Regions from separate parts of the Homo sapiens genome. Here regions 1, 2, 3, 4 and 6 are each linked to region 5. The links are contacts of gene promoters, found by promoter capture Hi-C in blood cells and fetal thymus (Javierre and others, 2016). All regions are on one chromosome and are shown on one strand. Each heading gives the region's core, a stretch centred on a gene start or on the middle of the fragment in contact. The rest is flanking DNA. Distances are from core to core; before and after follow the strand shown.

Region 1 (3,843 bases), core at 316-2,815, 300 kb before region 5:
AATGTAAGGGTATAAAAAATAGGTTTTCAGACATTCCAGGCCTTATACTAAAGCTATTGGAAGTTTTTTTTTTTTAAATAAAAAAGGAGTAAAATTTTAAAAGAGGAAGATGTATGGTCCAGGAAACAGAGACTCCATCATAGAAGGGAGGTGAAGGAAATCTGCACTAATATAATAACTGCATAGTAGACTTATAGGACAACAATCCAGAAGGTTCCAGAAGAGACTGCTTCAAAAAGATGGAATTATTGTGCTTGAACAAATTGAGAGGAGGGCACAGTTTGGGGACAAATGATTAAAACAAACAAAAAAAATTGTCTTTGTTTATAAAAAACAAAATATCTACCTATATGGATTAGAGAAAGTAAGTCAGGTAAAAAAGGGAATTTTTAACCTCAGGAAAAGCATAAGTTGTTCAGAAATGGAAAAATAAATGTAGTATTTATGGTTCAGTGATTCACAGTATTTAAAGAATTATAACAATGTAAACATTGTTAAAAAGTAAATTGAAGCTGGTTGCTCCAGCTTACCCCTGTAATTTCAGTACTTTGGGAAGCCAAGGTGGAAGGATCACTTGAGGCCAGGAATTTGAGACCAGCCTGGGCAACATAGCGAGACCCTGACTATACAAAAACCTTTTTTTAATTAGCCAGGAGTTGCGGTGCACACCTGTAGTCCAGCTACTTGGGAGGCTGAGGCAGGAGGATCCTTTGAGCCCAGGACATTAAGAATTCAGTGAGCTATAATCGTGCCACTGTACTCTAGTCTGGGTGACAGAGCAAGATCCTGTCTCTAAAAGAAAAATAAAATAAATTGAAGCACAACTTTAAAGAATATATTTGAGCAAACAATGATTCATTAATCAGACAGCTCCAAACGAGGAGTATTCAAGAGCTCCACCAACAGACCACAAAGCAGGAGACTTTTATAGGACAGATACAGAAGTAAAGCAAAGAAAAATTTGATTGGATATAGTTATCCAGTTGCCTTATTTGGTCTATGTCCGTTAGTCCATTCTTGCATTGCTATAAAGAAATACTTGAAGCTGGGTAATTTATAAAGAAAAGAGGTTTAATTGGCTCATGGTTCTGCAGGCTGCACAGGAAGTGTTGTACTGACATCTGCTTCTGGTGAGGCCTCAGGAAGCTTCCACTGGTGGCGGAAGGTGAAGAGGAAGCCAGTAAGTCATATGACAAGAGCAGGCATGGCGGCGGGGGAGGAGGGCAGGTGCACACACTTTTCAACAACCAGAGTTCACGTGAACTTATAGTGAGAACTCACTCATCACCAAGGGGATGGCTATTCATGAAGGATTCGCCCTCATGATCCAATACCTCCCACCAAGCCCCACCTCCAGCACTGGGAATTACATTTCAACATGAGATTTCGGTGGGGACAAATATCCAAACCATATCAGTCCCACTGGAAAATCCCTAATTAAATAATTACAAGTTTTTGGCTACTTCTGATTGTTTGGGCTTAAATTATGTTTTTCTTTAATACAGGCATTTGCAAGAAAAATCTGAAGTTAAGTTTTGCTTATGTTTGCAATCAAGCAAGGTTTAGGTCACTTAAGAGGCCTAACTTGTTTTGTCTGCTCAGAGATTCTTCAGGCCTGACCTCCACTTTAATTTACTTGAAGAGCATCGAATATGAATCTGCAGAATTTCAGTGAAACTATAGAGGAAGAATGGAGGTAAGGGGTGTGTGTGTGTGTGTATGTGTGTGTGTGCGCCCACAAGCACTTGTGCATGCTCTTGTGTGTATATGTTGTATGTTATGTGAAACAGTAAAATCCTTTTTTATCTGTAGAGGAAGTCAATGTTCAATGCATAAGATGAAAACACCAAGAAATAGTAATGAAGTCATGTTATTATAGATATATGGATGTAAATATCAAAAGAATCCATTAAAATGAAAGTGATTGCTTTAGAATTAGAAAATGGCAGAGGGAAAATGGAGAGTTGAGGAACTGCTCTCTATCATAAGCTTTAAATCTATCTTCCTGGGCATGGTGACTCACGCCTGTAATCCCAAAGTTTTGGGAGGCTGAGGCAGGAGGATTGCTGAGCCGGGAGTTTGAGACTGGCCTTGGCAGCATAGTGAGCCCCCATCTCTACAAAAAATAATAATAAAAAAAAAAACTAGCAGGACATGGTGGTGCATGCCTGTAGTCCCAGCTACTTGGGAGGCTGGGATGGAAGGATTGTTTGAGCCTGGGACAGTGAGGCTGCAGTGAATCGGGATCATGTCACTGCACTCCAGCTCTGGGCAACAGAGAGAGACCCTGCCTCAAACAAACAAACAAACAAGCCAAAAATACCCACAAACAATCTAACCCTAAACTCTGTGGATTTACAACTTTCATTTTAAAAAATTTTAATAAAAGGAAGAGATCAATGGTCAAAATTATAGAGTAGTATAGCAGAATGAGAATTAACTAAAAATCACTTCCAGGGACCAGCAGGCTACTATTTGGCAATGGAACAGTTCTGGGTTGGTCCACCCTAAGTGCTAGAGTCTGCCTCTATTCTAGGTCCCTCCTCAGTACAGGACAATTTGTTTCATGAAACTACCAAGTTGCTTTGTTACTATATATAAAAATTATTCAGATTTATCACGTCACCACCCGCTATGAGAATTTACGCAACAAACACCGAGCGCTTGCTTCTCAATGCCTCTTTCTAACGTTGTGTCTCTATTTCTTGTACCATCTCCCCCCACCCACCCTGACACACATTAAATCTAATCAGGGTGTTATCTAGATTTCAATACAAGTTTGACAAGTAGACAAGTATATGAATAAGAGATTAACACAAACTCAAACTGCCCCATGTGTCCTGTCTTCATGGAAATTAGCTTGTAAAGTCAAATGAGTTGGTTTTTCTTTTTCTTTTCTTTCTTTCTTTCTTTCTTTTTTTTTTTTTTTTCGGAGACAGGGCCCAGGTTGGAGTGCAGTGGTACAATCACAGCTCACTGTAGCCTCGACCTCCTGGGCTCAAGCAATCCTCTTGCCTCAGTCTCCCACGTAGCTGGGACCACAGGTGTGTGCCACCATGCCCAGCCAATTTTTGTATTTTTTTATAGAGACGGGGTTTCACCATGTTGCCCAGACTGGTCTCAAACTCCTGCACTCAAGTGATCTGCCAGCCTCAGCCTCCCAGTGAGTTGTTTTTTCTCTTTGTTCTCACATCATCCCTTTCTCCTTCTTGCATATCCCTAAGTTTAAGCCCCAGGTTATGCCGCATCTCCTTGATGAAGTCTTTCTGATCAGGGTCGGGCTTCCCAAAGATAACTTCTTCGTTCTCTCTCACCCTCTTACTGAAAGGCACCAACAGCTCTTCTTAGCAATGTACTGAGTGCCTGGCACTTAGTGTTGTTTACTTTATTGTTCCAAGCTCCATCTGGGGGCAAGCTCCCCAACTGAGACATTATTAGTACTCCCTGCATCTACGAAGGACTTCGTTGGAACTTGTAGATTTGGCTCCTGAAACCACACAAAATAAAACAAAATCCTGAACATGCCTACATAAATATGCACAAAAACACATTCAGTTCCACTGAATGGTTATTTGATGAAATTGAAATTATTTTTCATTCTTCAGGCATGACCATCATTTTGTTTAAATACAGACTTCTTATCTTTTAAAGGCATATACTAAATATGTACATATGAAATGGTATAATGTTTGGGATTTGCTTCAAAATAACTTGGTACTTGAAGAGAACTAGGTGGCAGTGTAAGTAAAATCAGAGGGCCAGGAATTTCTGCTTTTTGTGGCCCAAGGATGGGTAAATAGAGGTAATTTGTGCTATTTCCTCTATTTTTAATTTGTTAGAAAT
Region 2 (3,871 bases), core at 650-3,149, 400 kb before region 5:
ATTATCTAAGTGCAAAATGCCAGTGTGAAAGCACCACATATGGTATGATTTCATTTATATGAAATGTCCAGAATAGGAAAATCCATAGAGACAGAAAATAGATTGGTGATTTCCTAGGGCTGGAGGTGAGATGAAATGGGGAATGACTGCTAATGGGCATGGGTTTATTTTTGGGGTGATGAAAAGCTTCTAAAATTGATTGTGGTGATGGTTACACAATTCTGTGAATACACTAAAACCAACGAAGTTTGCACTTTACATGGGTGAATTGTGTAGTATTTGAATTATGTCTCATTAAAGCTGTAAAGAAGAAGTAATTGAAGAAATCAGAAAGGAAATGTATTAGATAAACAGAACTGATAGGCTATATATAGATGTAAAGAAAGGGATTTATTATGAGGGATTAGCTCACATAATTGTGGAGGCTGAGAAGTCCCTCCATCTGCCATTTGGAAGTTGAAGGTCCAGGAAAGCCAGTGGTATAGTTTCAGTCCCAGCCCAAAAGCCTGAGACCCAGAGGAACCAATGATGTGAGTCTAAGTCTGAGCCCAAAGACCCGAGAAGCTGGAGAGCTGATGTCCAAGGGCAGAAGAAGACGGATGTCCCAGCTGAAGCAGAGAGAGCCAATTCACCCTTCCTCCATCAGCTATTTGCTTGTTAATCCTGATTGTGCAAATAGCTCAGTGTGCAAAATATATGTCTAAGAGGGAGAGGAGGCTGGGCGCGGTGGCTCACGCCTGTAATCCCAACACTTTGGGAGGCCGAGGCGGGCGGATCACGAGGTCAGGAGATCGAGACCATCCTGACTAACACGGTGAAACCCTGTCTCTAATAAAAATACAAAAAATTAGCTGGGCATGGTGGTGGGCGCCTATAGTCCCAGCTACTCGGGAGGCTGAGGCAGGAGAATGGCGTGAACCCGGGAGGCGGAGCTTGCAGTGAGCCGAGATCGTGCCACTGCACTCCAGTCTGGGCAACAGAGCGAGACTCCGTCTCAAAAAAAAAAAAAAAAAAAAAAAAAGACGGAGAGGACACACAGGAGATCTGGGCGACGAACTAGCTCTGTTATTTAAACAACCATTGTAAAAGTTGTTTATGTATCCAGGTGGAGAGCCACTGATGAGGGAACTTGCTGGGCTTAGTTTCTGAGTCTCCACCAAACCTGTGCCTTCTGCTAAGCTGGGGATCTGCTAGCTGCCTACTAAAGGACGGGTGCCTGGAATCCACTGACAGTTTCACATACGGTGTGTTCTGGGGCATCAGCCACCTAGCTGGGGAGAGGGCCCTGGCTCAGAAGACTATGAGGGTGCACAGGAATAACTGGGGCTCCGTCACCCAAGGGAGGGTGCCTGTAGGACTCAGTTTAAGGGACAGTTTCAACCTCCTGGTGCCATCTTTCACTTATGTCCCACACTTCCAGTTAGTCTTGTGCCTCATCTAAATAACCACACCCTGATATTTGCCAAACTGGACCATGAGCATCCCCTCAGATTCTGCTTCAAACCATAGCTGAGCAGGCAACTCCGTATAGGCCCCAAGGCATGTGTATTTCTGATCAAGTCCTCCACCTACTGGTGACACTTGATTCTCACGTCCCTAGGGTTTACCAACAACACTTGTCTTTCCAGACTGTTCTATTAGAGTGTATGCTGACACTCCTCCATAACGACAACAACAAAAAATTAATGCCTGTTAGAGGCGCTATCCATGAAGCAGCAACAGGAGACTGACTGCTTTTGCTATGAGCCAGAGTCTGATGTGATAAAACCAGAAACAAAAACCAGCCTCTTGTCTTGGTGAAAAAGGGGGCCACTAGGCAAAAGGATGGCGAGAAAGGCCACCTGCATTCCTCATTCAAATTCTTCCTCATTCCTTGATTTCTCTCAACAGGTAGCCATCAAATCTGAGATTCGGTGTTGTTATAAATCTCTTCAAGAATATTGGGGAAGAGGCTGGGCATGGTGGCTCACGCCTGCACTTTGCGCCTCCCAGCACTTTGGGAGGCTGAGGAGGGCAGATCATGAGGTCAGGAGTTCAAGACCAGCCTGGTCAACATGGTGAAAACCCGTCTTCTACTAAAAATACATAAATTAGCTGCGTGTGGTGGCAGGAGCCTGTAATCCCAGCTACTTGGGAGGCTGAGGCAGGAGAATAGCTTGAACCCGGGAGGCGAAGTTTGCAGTGAGCTGAGATCATGCCACTGCACTTCAGCCTGGGAAACAGAGTGAGACTCCATCTTAGAAAAAAAAAAAAGGACTATTGGGGAAAAAATAGCAAACCCTGGACATTTCAGATCACTAAACTACCCCTTGTGTGACTTGCTCAAAATAATGTTATTACAAACTCATGGAATATTACTGGCTTTAGGCGATGACACAGTTGCAGTAATGTTCTGATTTGATTATTCAGAAATGAAATTTATGGTTTAAATTTCATCCAGGATTTATAGAATTTAAAAAAGTTATTCTTCAGTATTTGAAATACCACTTTGCCAAAGCAGAAAAGCCATAAATGTGTTAAACTGGCTAAGAAAATTAAGATGGCAGTAATACATTTTCTAATAAAAATCATAGCATAATAGCAAAATTACTGCGGAAAACCACAGTTATTGTGGCAAAGACATAAAATGTTACAGCTGCAATAATATGCTATTTGTTTTGGCAGGAGAATAAGAATACTGTACATTGCAGTTTTTCAATATTGGAAAAACATAAGAAAATACTATAAACTTAAAAGACTATTTTTTAAAAATGAAGAAGTGCATGAATGATTTTAAATTTTGAGCATATAAAAGAGTCTTGCTGCAAAGTCTATTGAACTCCTGAGAAGACTCTGTTTTGCTGTTTCTGATTTGCCAGTATCCTACCAGAAAACTATGCCTCCCAATAGAAAAAGAACACATAATCCTGTCTGTATTTGAGGGTTCAAGCCTGGAGATTCCGCCCCCTTGGTCGGTTGATTTTTATTGGAAACCCAAGATGCACCTGCCTGTGGAATGCATTTCAGAATGTGGAAGTACAGCAGGAAGAAAGCAGACAAGAACACAATCCCATGGTATTCTTGGTTAGGGACAGCTTGGGGGTCAGTGGGGGAGACATACACAGATTAAATGATTAATAGAGTAATTCAGCTTATTTACATTAGTCTGGTTTTTTACATGAGGGGCTCACAAATTCTTAATTTGTCCTTTCTTTATTATATTTTTCTTTTTTGCTATCTTTCAATATTGATTATCCATTTCTTCCCTTAATTACTAGACTTTCTGAACTTTTAAAAACATATATCTTCCAACTGGAAAGTATCTGTCCCTTATAACAACTACCAGTACTACTCATAAAACAACAAAAACCCATATAGCACTTAATAAGTGTCAGTCAGTATTTTAAACAGTTTATGCATATTATTCATTTAATCCTCTCAATGACCCTGTGAGAAGGTGCCATTATTCTCCTTATTTTTCATACGTGGAAAGTAAAGAGTAGGGAGAAACTGTCCAAGCTCACACAGCTAGTAAGTCATAGAGCTGAGACTGGAACCCAGATAGCCTGGCCCCAGAGTCCTTCACTATTCTGAATTTATAAAGATATTTTTGATATTTTCTTCCCAAAGTTTTAAAGCTTTCCTTTTCACATTGGAGTTTTAAATCTATCTATAATTAATTTTGAGTATGGCATGATTTAGGTATAACTTTTTATATGAAAAACTAATTTTCCCAGTTCTATTTATTGATATGCAAATATAAAATGTCTCTCTTTCTCTCTCTATATATATATCTGAGGTTGTTTTTGAGTGCTTTATATTCTTGCTTTGGTCTGAAAATTCACAGGTTGAAATTCTAACTCTTGAGACGATGGTATTAGAAAGCAGGGCC
Region 3 (3,805 bases), core at 266-2,765, 290 kb after region 5:
CAATAAAAAACAAACAAAAAAACCCCCAGAAGTCCTTACTTAAATCTGTTGTCAAAGTATGATTCCTGGAAGAAACTTTAGAGGCTGATGCAAGGAATTGTGCAATGGCTTTTATTGGAATACAGACATTTGTGTAACTCAAACTATAACTGCTTTCAGGAATATGGCTATATCACTTTCAGTTTCTTAATGAGGTGACTACTATGTTGTTTTTAACTAGTGGTGTGCTAGAGCCAGCTTGTAGAGACTGTTAAACAGCCATTTTTAAAGCAGCTATGATGGGAGTATTTATACCACAAAAACTGGCAAATGCACAAATCAGTCCTGCCTCCTTTCCCCATTCATCAGCAGGCCACTGTTTTTTAACTATTTGAAAAGGATGATGAATGAACTACTTATTAAGGTTCTTATATATGCTCACCAGAAAGCATTTCTACCCAAGGAATGTCTTGAACCACTAGTTTCACCCTCCTATGAATCCTTCAACTCCTTAATATGCTCAGTCCATGGACCTGGAAGAGACTCCCACTCAGCCTAGCCTGGCCTGTCTGTTTTGCTTCCCTGACTAGGCTGAAATCCCATCTGACCACTCTCCCAGCTTCCCTTGCCGATTTCCTCACTTCCACACAACCTACCTCTGACTCTTCAGTTCTCTCCGAGCTTCACATACGCTCTGACTCTTGGGTTAGCTCACCATATCTACTCACCTCTATCACTCTGACTGCTTCTCCCCAATGAATGACCCCAATACCTGCTTAGTTCAGCTGGATCAACCTAACTAATCTATTTTTTTTCTGTTCTTGCTTCAAAGCTATATACATGCTTTTGCTCTGGGAGAAAAACTACATGAGCAGCTTCACCTTCACCTGTGCCTTCAGTCCTGCTCACTGTCTCACTCCTGTTTGACCTTGACTGCTTTATCCACTCCTCTCTTCAAGCTCCCACCCCAGGCCTGATCATCTCACTAATACTTCACAGAGAAGTTATTTTATGTAAACTCCCTCAGTTTCTACTCCTTCAAATCAATGTGTATTAGTTGACTATAGCTGGAAAAGTTTCTCTGACTTTATTTTACAAAAACAAGGAAGGGAGGGGCTGGGCACAGTGGCTCATGCCTGTAATCCCAGCACTTTGGGAGGCCAAGGCGGGTGGATCATGAGGTCAAGAGATTGAGACCATCCTGGCCAACACGGTGAAACCCCGTGTCTACTAAAAATACAAAAATTAGCCGGGCATGGTGGCGGGCACCTGTAGTCCCAGCTACTTGGGAGGCTGAGGCAGGAGAATCAGTTGAATCCAGGAGGCGGAGGTTGCAGTGAGCTGCGATTGCGCCACTGCACTCCAGTCTGGCGACTCCAGCCTGGCGACAGAGCAAGACTCCAACTCAAAAAAAAAAAAAAAAAAAAAAACGAAAAACAAAAAACAAAAAAGAACACAGGGAGGGAGGACTCTGTCCCTCACTTTTGCTGCATGCATAAAATTATTCCACTTCCCTTTTACCAGTATGTTTCTTCAAACAGAAATCTCTACCCACTGTCTCCACAACTCTGCCACAACAATCTAGTGGGTGGTATCTATGTCCAGCAAACTGACTTTTGACCTAACTCTAAAATACACTGGTCTTTTTCTAGTGCTTATTCTAGATCTTTGTGCTGTACCTGACACTGCGGACCAGTGTCACGTTAAAATCCTACCTTGGGGCCGGGCGCGGTGGCTCATGCCTGTAATCCCAGTACTTTGGGAGGCTGAGGCGGGCGGATCACTTGAGGTCAGGAATTCGAAACCAGCCTGGCCAACAAGGTGAAACCCTGTCTCTACTAAAAATACAAAAATTAGCCGGGCATGGTGGCGGGTGCCTGTAATCCTAGCTACTTGGGAGGCTGAGGCAGGATAATCGCTTGAACCCAGGAGGCAGAGTTTGCAGTGAGCTGAGATTGCGCCACTATACTCCAGCCTGGGCTACAGAGTGAGACTCTGTCTAAAAAAAAAAAAAAAAAAAAAAGAAAAGAAAAAAATCCCATGTTGGTTTGATGATAATACTTTTACATGGTTTACCCACTACTTTGGACTGTTCTTTTCAGTCACTCTACTTTGAGAAACAACCTTTTGGTCTCCCTCATTCTCTTGGCTATAACTATTACTACGTGCAAATAATCACCCAATTTATCTTCAGCATGACTTCAACTTCTGCTCACAGTCACCTTGGAATAAACACACTGAAGATTTAAAAACCTTCTATTCCAAACTTACTCTTCTTCCTATGTTAATGATGTTACCGCCTACTCACCTGCTTAACTAGAAACCTGAGACTTCTTTTTACTTCTAAGCATAAAATGATTCTCCAATGTGCCTCCCTTCTCTATGCCTTGGTTTAGGTCCTTTTATCTCGAATATGGATTACTTAATAGCTAACATTTCCTTTCCTGGTGTGTAGGGCTCCATCTTAATAGAGCTTGAAGTTACCAATCCCCTTGGAGGACCTACTTATCGAGTACTTCAACTTTATGTAAGCCAATTACATGACAATATTTTATGTCTTATAAATACAGATAATGAAGCAAAAAGAGATAGAAAAGGGTCGAGTTTTTCCCTCCCAAAACCCCCAATGATTAAGAATTTTCCATGTGTAATCATGTGTACATTAACTACCCATAGTTTTCTCGCACAATGCATTTTTTTCCTCAGCAATTTTCTGAACAGAAGTTCGTTTTAGTGATCTTACCTAAATCTACCCCAAGTTTCTCAGGGAGGACTCTGGGGATGTTCTCTAGTAATCCTCCACCAGTAATATGGGCAAAGGCTTTGACATGTCCTGAACGTAGGACAGGTAACAGTGAATGGCTGTAGATTCTGGTAGGCGTGAGAAGTAAGTCCCCTGCATGTTGAAGAGAGAAGACAAAAACTTAGCCTATGAATAGAAAACCAAAACATAAAAATCAACCTGGAGAATGACACCAGCTCTACAATAATGACCAAGTAGCAAACCAAGGTAATTCATTCCCTTTTAGCTCTAAGTAATCAGAGACTAAAACCACTAAATGCTTGCTCAGGCATTTCCAAGCAGGACAGTTTAAACATGAGGGAGTTTACCTAAAGTCTGGTCACCACAACCATCAGGTGCTGGAGAGGAGTACTGGAGGGAAGATTTTGCCACGATTTTCCTCACAAGGCTAAATCCATTGCTATGAAGACCAGATGAAGCTATTCCAACAACAACATCACCCTCAGTGATTCTTTCCAGGTGAGGGAGTTTCTGATCTCGCTCCATGGCACCAACGGCAAACCCAGCTAGGTCATACTCTCCAGGGGGATACATGTCAGGCATTTCTGCTGTTTCACCTCCTGGTGGGATAAGACAAGAACAAAGAAATCAGAGTATTTATAAATCTGTCTAGGAAACAGTGGCACAGGCTACTCTTAACATGAACAACTAACACATGGCTATGTCCTGCAAATATTTAAGAAAATGTACTCTACCAGCTGTCTAACAGAACTTTCCACCAAGCATGATTTCAGGAGAAATAGCACTTGTTTCCACAAAGGGTGAGATTAGGTAGCACCTCTACAAGTATATATGCAGCCGCCAAACACCACTGCTTGCACAGAATGAATGCTCAGTTGAATATAACATCATTTCTATAGCTGTTTAGTTTCAAAACTGCTTTCATATGTATTTGATCTTTATAATCAGTCCATTTTTCAGGTGATGATACAGCCTTAAAGAAGTGACTTAACTGGGACTGCCCAATTCCAAATACCCTAGCTTAAAAAGTATAGCATTTTACTTACAATTATATCATGTCAA
Region 4 (3,918 bases), core at 1,419-3,918, 350 kb after region 5:
CTTTTGCCTAGCCAAAAATATGTTCAATATATTTCCATTTGGGGTTTCCTCTCTTTTAACAATTATGGAATAAAACTATTTCCCAAGACATCTAAACAATGTTATGTGAGTACAAATACTTAGTAAATTTTCAGCAACCTTTCCATATTAAGAGATTTTCAGGTGAAGTATATTCCAGAGAATACCATTTTTTCATATAGTATTTTATCTGATTTAGTAATACACTGTCAATGCAGACTATTGGAAAAACAAAAATTTAAAATCCATTCAATTTTATTGCTAAGATTTAGCATGTATTTTGTATTTACATATATAATTTATTATGATTATAATCCCAGCACTTTGGGAGGCCAAGGTGGGCAGATCACTTGAGGTCAGGAGTTCAAGACCAGCCTGGCCAACATGGTGAAACCTCGTCTCTATTAAAAATACAAAAAAATTAGCCAGGCATGGTGGTGTGAGCCTATAGTCCCAGCTACTTGGGAAGCTAAGGCAGAAGAATCACCTGAGCCCCAGAGGCAGAGGTTGAAGAATCGCTTGAGCCCGTTAGGCAGAGTTTGCAGTGAGCCAAAATTGAGCCACTGCTCTCCAGCCTGGGTGACAGAGCAAGACTCCGTCTCTAAATAGATAGATGAATGAATGAATGAATGAATGAATGAATGCAGGGCGGCCAGGTGCAGTGGCTCATGCCTGTAATCCCAGCACTTTGGGAGGCCGAGGGCAGATCATGAGGTCAGGAGTTCGAGACCACCCTGACCAACATGGTGAAAACCCGTCTCTACAAAAAATACAAAAAAAAAAAAAAATTAGCCAGGCGTGGTGGCACACGCCTGGGTGAGAGTGAGATTCCACCTCAAAAAAAAAAAAAAAAAAAAAAAAAAAAAAAAAAAAAAAAAGCAGGGCATGGCAGTCCTGTGGTCCGATACTCGAGAGGCTGAGGCAGGAATTTCACTTGAGCCCACATGGTTGAGGCTGCAGTGAGCTGTGCCACTGCACTACAGCAAGACCCTGTCTCCCCAACCAAAAAAAGAAAATAAATGTTCGTATAATTTAAAAAGAGGCCAGGAGTTCAAGACCAGCCTGGCCAATATGGTGAAACTCCGTCTATACTAAAAATACAAAAATTAGCTGGGCGTGGTGGTGCCCACCTGTAACCCCAGCTACTCGAGAGGCTGAGGCAGAAGAATCGCTTGAACCCCAGAGTTGGAGGCTGCAGTGAGCCGAGATCGCACCACTGCACTGCAGCCGGTGACAGAGTGGGACTCCCTCTTAAAACAAACAAACAAAAACAAACAAGAAAAAAAAAAACAAAAAAAATAGCTAGGCTTGGTGGTGTGTGCTTGTAATCCCAGCTACTCAAGAGGCTGAGGCATGGCGCGAGAATCACTTGAACCCGGGAGGCAGGGGTTGCAGTGAGTTGAGATCACGCCACTGCACTCCATTCAGCCTGGATAGCAGCGCAAGACTCCATCTCGAAAAGAAAATAAAAAGGATTTCATATAATTTATATATTTCCACATAATTTCTTTGATATAACTGTCTTATATAATTTTTGTTTCTTTTTTTAATGGGAGGAAAGCAAAATGAAAATATGTACCAAGTAAAAATGCTAGGAGGTTTTTTTTTAAATCAAGAATTTATCCTATCAAAGTAAAGTACTTCTTAAAAGCTAGGTTATGCAGACTTTTATTACCTTAAGCATTTGCATTGTGGCACCTCGGAAAGCAACAGGGGACAAGAGGGTTGGAGGAAGTCCTGCCTGTGGACCTGAGGTAGCAACTAAACTCTTAGAGTTAATCAAAAAATTGAGCAATGTAAAGGTGTTGATTCCTTTTACCAACACAACAGATTCAGGTCTGTGATCCATTTGTACTTCATGTTTCTCTTTACGCCTGAAGATGACAATCAAGGAAATTGCAAAAGCAAATCTCACCTAATGTGGAAAGCAGTTATCTTGATTCTGAATCACCTGAGACTCCTTTTCTCCATAATGAAATGGAAATCCTCTTGCTACCTCTCTTTACCGAATCATAAGGCATATGTTTCAATCAAAATGTTAACAATCTGAATTTGCTACAAACTGACACCTAAACCTAATTTCTTCTCTAGTCAAAACACACCTATTCTCCCACAATCATAATTGAACGTTTTGATTAAAAAAGGTTTAATAGTTCACCATTTGTTGATACTTAGGGGCTTATTTAGTATTACAATGGAGAATTAGTTTTAATATGACCTGAAGATAATTTAAGATTATAATCATATAAAACTGCCAATGTTAAACTTCTCACTAACGTCATTCAATGAAAATTAATTCTAGTTAACAACAACTGAAAGGATACAGCTTGATAGAAAGTATGTCTGGCTTTTTAATTTTATCTTGCACACCCATCTCTTCCAGCCAGGAAAAACTTTCCTCTTCATCCTCATCACTGATGGCTTGCTCCCTAGGAAATTGCTACAGTTAGAGTCCCTATTTCACAAGCTGTTCCTGTGCAAATCTATTTCATGAGTCCATAAGTCAGTGGATGATATAAAGTTATTTTAATCACATACTCCCCATATCCCAAGCTTGTTCCAGATGCTGTCTCCTTCTTATGGCCACTTTCTTTTATTAAAGGCAGAGAAAATTCAATACCTATATGAGGAACAAAAATGTAACTGAGTTGTCATTTAAAGTATTTAACAGGCATGCTGTACTTTTAGAGTGTAAAAAATTTGAAATGTTAGTTTTTACAAATGATCTATTAAGGCAGTAGAGTTTTCAAGCTTTCTTCACAAACCTACAAACATGCATAAAACGTATTCTCCTTGAAAGAGGTTCGGGAAACAACACATACATGTAACACTCTTTCATAAATCATATTGTATTCCAGTTCACTTTTTGAAAAAGTACTGATTGGGCCCATTAAGTAGATTTCATGATCCACTAATGGGTTTACTCAGTTTGAAAATTTTGTTATTAAAGGGGTAATTGGTACTATAGAAGAATTTCTAGAAGAGTATATTCAGATAGTGACTATCTGGCCCAATATGTGTTTTATTTTAGAGATCAGAGAACACTATGTGGAAGGAACAGTTTAAATCAGGAGTCCCCAACCCCTGGACTGTGGACTGGTACTGGCCTGTGGCCTGTTAGAAACCGGGCTGCACAGCAGGAGGTGAGCGACTGTCGAGTGAACATTACTGCCTGAGCTCCATCTCCTGTCACATCAGTGGTCGCATTAGATTCTCACAGGGGCACGAATCCTACTGTGAACTGTGCATGTGAGGCATCTAGGTTGTGCCCTCCTTATAAGAATGATGATCTTGTCCGGGCGCGGTGGCTCACGCCTGTAAGCCCAGCACTTTGGGAGGCCGAGGCGGGCGGATCACGAGGTCAGGAGATCGAGATCGTCCTGGCTAACACGGTGAAACCCCGTCTCTACTAAAAATACAAAAAATTAGCCGGGCATGGTTGCAGGCACCTGTAGTCCCAGCTACTCGGGAGGCTGAGGCAGGAGAATGGCCTGAACCCAGGAGGCGGAGCTTGCAGTGAGCCGAGATTGCACCACTGCATTCTAGCCTGGGTGACAGAGCGAGTCTCCATCTCAAAAAAAAAAAAAAAAAAAAAAAAAGAATGATCATCTGATGTGTAACAGTTTCATCCCGAAACCATCCTCCTCACTGCCCATGAAACTGATCCCTAGTGCCAAAAAGTTTGCGGACTGCTGGATTAAATAATTGTGGGGGAGGGAAAAAAAGCCAGAAATAAAGAAATAATATATTTCTTAATGTTGCTAATCAACTGGTAAAAGGCATTTTAAATTTAAATAGCTTTTAGGCCAAAATAGGTTTACTATATAGTATAGTATTCTCACTTTAAACCTAAACTTTTACCTTCATTTCTCATAGCTTCTCTTAAACCTCGAGTTGTTG
Region 5 (3,732 bases), core at 460-2,959:
GGCTAATTTTTTTTTTTTTTTTTTTTTTTTTTTGGTATTTTTAGTAGAGACGGGGTTTCACCGTGTTAGCCAGGACTGCATTTGTTTTTTAAAAAATCTTTTTCCTAATTATATAAGTAAGGATGTTTACTGTAGAATGTTTGGAAAGGAAACAAAATAAAAATCACCTACTATCATCCAATCTGCAATAAGTCATAGTTAAGGTTTTGACATAGTTTTATTTTTAATATATATGTTTATATAAAAGAGTGCATGCAGCACATGGAGTTTGGTATTGGATTTCTCCCATTTTCAGAGGCTATTTCTGCAAATTCTCTAAAACTGTGGCTGAAAATATTTTCAATGTTGAATGTCTTTTATAAGAAATAGGATCCTAGATAAGTTCCCTTCAGATCGTATGGGGCTGGTGGGAATTCTGCCAAGGGTCACATAAGAGGCAGGACCGTGACATCCTCTTTATGATCACCCTTGTGCCTAGCCTTAAAGGAGTATCAGCAAATGTTGGTTGACTTCATAGATTAAAAGGCTCATTTTTCCCATCTACAAAAAGTATGAAACATCCTCCTCCTCCCTTTCCTAGGAGGCCAGAAAGCTGAACGAGAGATTAAATACTCAGTTAAAACAATTTAGGTGGTTAGTGTATCTTTTCCCTCTCCTTCAAAAAGATATTAACATTTCCATTTTAGTAGCTGTAATGTTTAGAATATACATACATTTTACTTGAAAGCTGCCTCATAGTCTATTTTGGTTTTGGATTTTCTTTTTTTTTTCGTTTTTCTTGAGACAGAGTTTCGCTCTTGTCTCCCAGGCTGGAGTGCAATGGTGCAATCTCAACTCACTGCAACCTCCACCTCCCAGGTTCAAGCAATTCTCCTGCCTCAGGCTCCCAAGTAACTGGGATTACAGGCGCCCGCCACCACGCCCAGCTAATTTTTGTATTTTTAGTACAGACAGGGTTTCACCATGTTGGTCAGGCTGGGTCTTGAAGTCCTGACCTCAGATGGTCCATCTGCCTTGGCCTCCCAAAGTGCTGAGATAACAGGTGTGAGCCACCGCTCCCGGCCTCATAGTCTATTTTAGAAGTTGACAGGCTATAAATAACAAGCAGACAAATTAATGAAGAACATCTGTCTTTCTGCCTATCCCGAAACACGTTGATCAGTGGGGGGTCGAGGGAAGGGTAGGAGTATGGAGAAGAGACCCGCGGAGAAGAGGGGAGAATCTACAACGGATAATGTTGTAGATATTTACAACATTTACTCAATGGTAGGTATTTTTATCCTCGTTTTACTAGTTGGAGAATTATATCATGCAGGTTTATACAATTAACAAGTGGGGGAGCCAGGAGAGAACCCATTCACTCTTTAGTTCATTCATTCATTCAGTCAGTCAACACATCTTTGGGTGTCTTCTAAATGCCAGGCACTATTCTAACCCCTAAGGATACTTCAGTAAACAAAACAGTCCCAAATTCTTCCCCTATGGAGCTTTCTCGGCGAAGGCGGGATTGGTTAGGAGCTGACAATCGGCAGCAGACGATTGTAAATGACCGGACCTTTTTTCTATTCTCCTGCCCAGCCCCCGGCCCGGCCTCCGCCTCCGGCCCTGCTCCAGCCCCGCCAGCGGCCCAGGACCCGCCCCTGGCTCCGGCCCCGCCCCTGGCTCCGCCCCCGCCCCCGCGCCGGCGGCGGCGCGGCGCCCGCGCTTCCGTATCGCTCCTCGTAGGCCGGGGCTCGGCGCGCGCACCCGCACTAAAGACGCTTCTTCCCGGCGGGTAGGAATCCCGCCGGCGAGCCGAACAGTTCCCCGAGCGCAGCCCGCGGACCACCACCCGGCCGCACGGGCCGCTTTTGTCCCCCGCCCGCCGCTTCTGTCCGAGAGGCCGCCCGCGAGGCGCATCCTGACCGCGAGCGTCGGGTCCCAGAGCCGGGCGCGGCTGGGGCCCGAGGCTAGCATCTCTCGGGAGCCGCAAGGCGAGAGCTGCAAAGGTAACGCAGCGTGGCGGGGTCGCGGGAGCGGAGCGCGTGGCCAGCTGACTGGAGGGAAAACGCCGCCTCCCTGCAGCGGTTCCCGGAATCCCCTCCGGTTCCCTCTCGCTCTCCCCGACTCCTCCTCCTCCTCCTGCCCTCCCTCTGCGTCTTGAGTATGCGGCTAGTGCGCCCTTCCTCTCTCCCGGGGCCGCACCTGCGACCCCAGGACCCCTCCCGGGCCCTGTCCTGCGCCCTCCACGCGTCGCCCCTGCTGGGAGTCCGCTTTCGTTGCACCCCTCCGCGTCCCACCCCACCCCACCAAGGATGCCCAGGATACCGGGCATTTGCCACTGCAAGATGTGAGTCGTTGCTAAGTTTGAGGGTCACATTCCTCCAGGTCCACCCCGCCTTGCAAAACCGGCTCACCAGCTGGGTGCTCAGGTTCGGGATCTCCAGCCCGCCCCCTTGAGGTCCCCTGGGATTAGCCCCCCTCGACCTGCGTCAGGGTCACAGACTGCAGCCGGGGCTGGAGCGGCCTACACCCCTCCGGATCCGCTGCGTGGAGGCAGGAGGGGGAAGGGGCGAGGGGACGTGGCCGCGGAGACAGAAGGGTGCACCCTCCCAGGGTCGGAGAGGGGAGATACTGGGAAGATACTCCGCGAATATGGAGAGGCGATCGGCACTTGCATTTCAACCCTGAGCAAATCAATCCGTTACACGCAGTAGCGAGTTGACTCCATCAGCCCGTTTATTTGGTTAGCGATGGTTATATTGACTCTGAGTATTCCCACCTCCTTTCTTTTAACATTTTTTTTTTTATTTCCTTGTTTTGTTTAGCAAGAAGTCTTAGAAACGAATATAGCATGCTTGGGCGTTGATTCAGTGGTGAGAAGTGCCGGAGCTGGCTCAGGGAGAGGTGGAGTTTCCCATGTGTGCTCACTGGCCCAGGGGCTAAGTCCCACTGCTTGCCAAGGTTTCTCAGTATCCTGTCCACCCACCCCCTATCCACCTGTGCAGGCTTGAGGGGGTGAGGGGGTAGCAGATACTCTATCAAAATCTACCCTAAGGAAAATATTCGATAAACACTCCTAGCAATTAGGGCATAGCTGATAAGGCTTGATCTGTTTGTCGCAGAAAATGACTTGAACTTGTAAGTTCTATTGTTCATAAAGTTGTTTTCCACAATTTTAGATAATCAAAAATGTACATGACTCATTTTTCTTACCTATTATTTCCTCTAAAGTTTCTCATGTATTTATTGAAAAGTTAAAGAAAATCTGATTTTGGTTCACATAATTTGACAATGGTGATTTGTCTAAAAGTCATTTCAAAAAGTAGTATGAAAAGGATCATAACCCTAGAGGTACTGTCATAGACGTGAAACATTTATTAAAATATATATTCCATGGCTCACACTTGCACACTCAAAGCCACATTGGACTCATTTTTTCTGCTACCTTTATAAACCTTCAAACTGTTCAAGAGTCAATGGTATGTATCATCTTCCGTTATCAATCATCATGTTTTGTTTTGTTTGGTTTGGTTTGGTTTGGTTTGGTTTTTGACAAAGTCTCGCTCTGTCGCGCAGGCTGGAGTGCAGTGGCACTGTCTTGGCTCACTGCAACCTCCCCCTCCTGGGTTCAAGCGATTCTTCTGCCTCAGCCTCTTGAGTAGCTGAGATTACAGGCGTGTGCTACTACGCCTGGCTAATTGTATTTTTAGTAGAGATGGGATTTCCACTATGTTACCCAGCCTGGTCTGG
Region 6 (3,893 bases), core at 914-3,413, 320 kb before region 5:
AGAAAGGAGGAAGGTGAGGAAGGTTAGAAAGGAAAGGAGGGAGAAAGGTAGGGAGGGGAGAAACAAAGAAAGAAACAAAAAAGAGAAAAGAAAGAAGCCCTCATTGGTAGCATTTGCAAATTTCTATGGTATAAATATTCCCTACTATGGCTGATTTCAATCTACCAACATAATTTCACTGAACACGTAGTTGGAAAGAGATGTACACAGTCAGCTCTTGTAAGCCAGTCATAGCTGGCTCCAGCACACCACGTGGCTATCTCAATCTTCAGAGTCTGTTCTGAGGGTCTGTTTCCTGGGGCTACTCCTGGAACCCATTACTGTATCAGTCAGGGACCTAGCAACAAATAGATGGCCCACTAATAGGGAGTAATTTGAGAAAATTTTAACAAAGTAATTATTTACAAATAGTATTTTATAATTATTTAATTATCAGTTAATTTAATAATTATTCATTATAATTAATAATATATACAATGTATAATATATAAATTATATAATATATTTATTATAATTAATAATTATAGAAATATATTTTTATATTATATTGTATATATAGATGTATAAAATATTTAATATATAAATTGCATATTATATAAAATTTAAATGAGATTTATAAGATATATAAATTAATTAATTATATTTATAATTTATAAGTATGCATTTATAAATTTATATACATTATTTATAATGTATATACTTAATTATTATCTTATTAATTATATAATTATATTATTAGTTGCCTAATTACACTTATATAATTAATTTATATAGTTATATTTATATAATTATAACAAATATAACTATATAACTTATAATTATATTTTATCTATATATGGAAATATTTTATATATTATAACATATAAATAGTATAATTATAATGAAAATATATGAAAATATAAATAATAAATAATTATTCATTTAATAATTATTTAATTATTATTTACGAGTTAAGAGTGGGTAGGGTCTAGAGAAACCACAAAGGACAGTGAAGGTTTCTTGGGCTAGTAAGAGCAGGGCTCTGTTACAGTCCCTGGGCCTGAAGTGCAGAGGGAAAGAGCAGTTACTGGAACATGGAGACAGAGAGAAAGCCACGTGACAAGTCCTGGGTGCTTTGGTCAAGGAATGAAGCCAGCCTTATATCAATTCCTTAGGGAGGGAGCTGTAATTTCTTTTCCTCCTGCCCTCCAAACTACAATTTTTCCTCGTTGGTAGGGTGACCAATCGTCTCAGATTGCCTGGGATTATCCTGGTTTTAGCAGTTAAAGTCCTAAATCCTGGAAAATCAATTCGGTGATATGCACAGAAGCTTGGGGGAAATGTGTAAAAACCATATGGTGGCCCAAAAAATAGGGGCTGAATGCAATACTGTTTTGGCTGTAAATGGGTACAGTGCAGATGATCCACCTTCCATAACCCCTGTTGCTGTTTCTCCCCTGACTGCTCAGGTTGGGGACCACAACTTGTCATTCAGAATAGTGGATCATCCACGGTTGCAACTTTCCCAAGGTTGCAACTAAGTGTGCGTCACAAGTACACTGCAATCACAGGCATTAAGAGTCTGTCTTTGACTTTACCTGTGAACTAACTGTTGTCCTTTGTATCAAGATAGTGCTCATTTAATTTTTAGCAGTTGTAAATATTGTGGCCATATTTTCTAAGAGTTCAGATAATTAAAAAAGATAGTGATTACAATACCAATGCTGGCGTAAACCAAGGCATCACTGGAAAAGAAGGCTAACCAACTGTGTTATCTTAATGACATATGGAAGGACATGTACAACCAGATTAGAGAGGTAAATAATCAAAACAGAGCACGCTGCTCAATATGCAGAAAAGAGTTTTGAGCCAGGCACAGTGGAGAAGGGGATGTGAAAGTGCATGTGGAGACGACATCTCACAATTCTAAGATGAAACCGATATCCCTAAGTCAATCAAAAAACGTTGTCTACCAAAAAATGTCCAGTCAAAAATAGCAGCTGCTGCATTAGCTCAGTCATACCACACAAATCACTTTATCAAATCACTCTTTTGATCATTTTATAGGATTCAGTAAGGCTATATTTCCTGATTCAGAGGTTACAACTGAAATGTCTTGCAAACAAACAAAAGAGATGAATAAAAACAATAAGAGATGTGTTGGTCCCTTACATGGTAGAACTGATCTTTTCCTATCTTCCCCACAATCATGCTTTCTGCAGCTCTGAGTTTATAAGCTCTTATAAACTCAGAATATAAACAGCACTTATCAGAATATAAACAGTGTTTCTGCAGCACTCAGTTTATAAACTCAGAAAATGTAAACCAAAAGATTACTGATACCTTATCTGAATAAAAACTAGACATTTACATCTCTAACCCCAGTGCCTTGGGAGGCTGAAGTGGGAACCTTTCCTGAGGCCAGGAGTTCAAGACAAGCCTGGGCAAAATGGTGAGACCCCCTGTATTAGTCTGTTTTCATGCTGCTGATAAAGACATACCTGAGACTGGGCAATTTACAAAAGAAAGAGGTTTAATGAACTTACAACTCCACGTTGCTGGGGAGGCCTCACAATCATGGTGGAAGGTGAAAGGCATGTCTTACAGGGCAGCAGGCAAGAGAAAAGAGCTTGTGCAGGGAAGCACCCCTTTATAAAACCATCAGATCTCATGAGACTTATTCACTATCATGAGAACAGCATGGGAAAGACCTGTCCCCATGATTCAATTACCTCCCACCTGGTCCCTCCCACAGCACATGGGAATTCAAGATGAGATTTGAGTGGGGACACAGCCAAACCATATCACCCCCCATCACTACAAAATATATATATATAAATACATAAAAAGAATAAAAATAAAAACTAGACTTTGTTAATCTACCTACAGATATGACTGAGAATGCAAAGGTAAATTTTGGCAAATTATTTTCAGTCTATAAACTTCTTACCAATGAAAATGGAAAACTCTTATCTGCTAATTGTCATATATTTAGGGGGTGTGATTTGCTTATCTGGGATATTGATGATTTCATAATGAAAGCTTTTGGTCAGCTTTCATTTCTTTCAAAATGTGTAGAAACAATGAGACTTTTGACTTTGTAGAAATGGTAGGAGGTAGTCTCCTTAGACGCATGCCTACAAGGTGGCTATTATCATTGCCTGCCATAGAGAAAATATTAAATTGTTGGTCTATTGCAAAGTAATATTTTCAAAGTTTGGGATAAGAAGGATGTCCCTGTTTAATTTGGAAATACACTGAGGCTGATAATGGAGACAAGGACAGAACTTATGTGCTCTTTCTCCAAAACTGTTTGGTGGTATTTGAAGAGCCCATAAGGAGCATAGAAAAGGATGGGCAGACTGGACTTCAGTTATTTGATGTTATGTGGACATTGTGAAAAAACTCACTAAAAAAAGGACTTAGCAGATGAGGACAATAAGGCTTAGATTCATTCTAAAAAGTGATACTTTAAAAAATAATAATAAAGCAGGTTTAAAACTATAAAAAACAGAAAATGGCAACAGAGCTTTCTTAATTTCTCTACTAAATTGGTAGTTTATTTGTAATCCAATTTAAGATTTTAAAACTTAAAATTATCTCTGTGCTTTAATACCATTTTCTGTGAGAAACAAAGGTTTAACTTATAATGCCATCCAATGTACTTCAGACTAGGTAAAATGATGGCCGTTTTGGACATGACTGACTCATATAACTAATTTATTGATACAAAGAATCTCACTGAGAAACATCTGGTTTTTCAAAATAAGTCTTTAGATACAAAGTGGATGGACAATCTTGGAGAGCTGCAAACTAATTCTTGCTTGTCTAAAAACTTGTTCTTGCTAGCGGATTACATGGCAAAATTTTAAAAGGGTTTCACAGAATGTATGTGTTTACTATACATTATTATT

The links. Contacts are between HindIII fragments. The CHiCAGO score rates a contact against its expected background, and 5 or more counts as called.
Region 1: a fragment that was not itself captured here is called in contact with the fragment with the promoter of IFNAR2 in region 5 in 1 of 17 cell types (non-activated CD4 T cells); the score reaches 6.2 in non-activated CD4 T cells.
Region 2: a contact is called between a fragment that was not itself captured here and the fragment with the promoter of IFNAR2 in region 5, in 1 of 17 cell types (M1 macrophages). The highest score is 5.5, in M1 macrophages.
Region 3: a contact is called between a fragment that was not itself captured here and the fragment with the promoter of IFNAR2 in region 5, in 1 of 17 cell types (neutrophils). The highest score is 5.1, in neutrophils.
Region 4: a fragment that was not itself captured here is called in contact with the fragment with the promoter of IFNAR2 in region 5 in 1 of 17 cell types (total B cells); the score reaches 5.9 in total B cells.
Region 6: a contact is called between a fragment that was not itself captured here and the fragment with the promoter of IFNAR2 in region 5, in 1 of 17 cell types (non-activated CD4 T cells). The highest score is 5.5, in non-activated CD4 T cells.

Annotation. Positions count from the first base shown.
Region 1 is chr21:32,925,350-32,929,192 of GRCh38, forward strand. It overlaps LOC105377136 (a long non-coding RNA gene), which reads left to right. Exons shown (of 6, transcript XR_937669.3): 5 at 1,603-1,696. Among named protein-coding and RNA genes, the nearest start is that of LINC01690, 32 kb to the right of the region's middle. The HindIII fragment of the contact is 843 bases long and covers 1,145-1,987 here.
Region 2 is chr21:32,825,215-32,829,085 of GRCh38, forward strand. No RefSeq gene overlaps it. Among named protein-coding and RNA genes, the nearest start is that of EPCIP, 13 kb to the left of the region's middle. The HindIII fragment of the contact is 3,431 bases long and covers 185-3,615 here.
Region 3 is chr21:33,514,267-33,518,071 of GRCh38, forward strand. GART (phosphoribosylglycinamide formyltransferase, phosphoribosylglycinamide synthetase, phosphoribosylaminoimidazole synthetase) reads right to left here. Exons shown (of 22, transcript NM_000819.5): 15 at 3,091-3,342; 16 at 2,723-2,875. Among named protein-coding and RNA genes, the nearest start is that of DNAJC28, 24 kb to the left of the region's middle. The HindIII fragment of the contact is 9,220 bases long and covers 1-3,805 here.
Region 4 is chr21:33,579,609-33,583,526 of GRCh38, forward strand. DONSON (DNA replication fork stabilization factor DONSON) reads right to left here. Exons shown (of 10, transcript NM_017613.4): 5 at 3,880-3,918; 6 at 2,557-2,638; 7 at 2,343-2,447; 8 at 1,694-1,892. Among named protein-coding and RNA genes, the nearest start is that of DONSON, 7.1 kb to the right of the region's middle. The HindIII fragment of the contact is 198 bases long and covers 2,570-2,767 here.
Region 5 is chr21:33,228,229-33,231,960 of GRCh38, forward strand. IFNAR2 (interferon alpha and beta receptor subunit 2) reads left to right here and starts at 1,710. Exons shown (of 9, transcript NM_001289125.3): 1 at 1,710-1,988. IFNAR2-IL10RB (IFNAR2-IL10RB readthrough) reads left to right here and starts at 1,710. Exons shown (of 13, transcript NM_001414505.1): 1 at 1,710-1,988. RefSeq lists silencers at 1,527-1,986, 2,047-2,106, 2,127-2,176, 3,399-3,588. The HindIII fragment of the contact is 6,332 bases long and covers 1-3,732 here.
Region 6 is chr21:32,907,712-32,911,604 of GRCh38, forward strand. The region is part of intron 4 of LOC105377136 (a long non-coding RNA gene); the gene reads left to right. Among named protein-coding and RNA genes, the nearest start is that of LINC01690, 49 kb to the right of the region's middle. The HindIII fragment of the contact is 1,712 bases long and covers 1,308-3,019 here.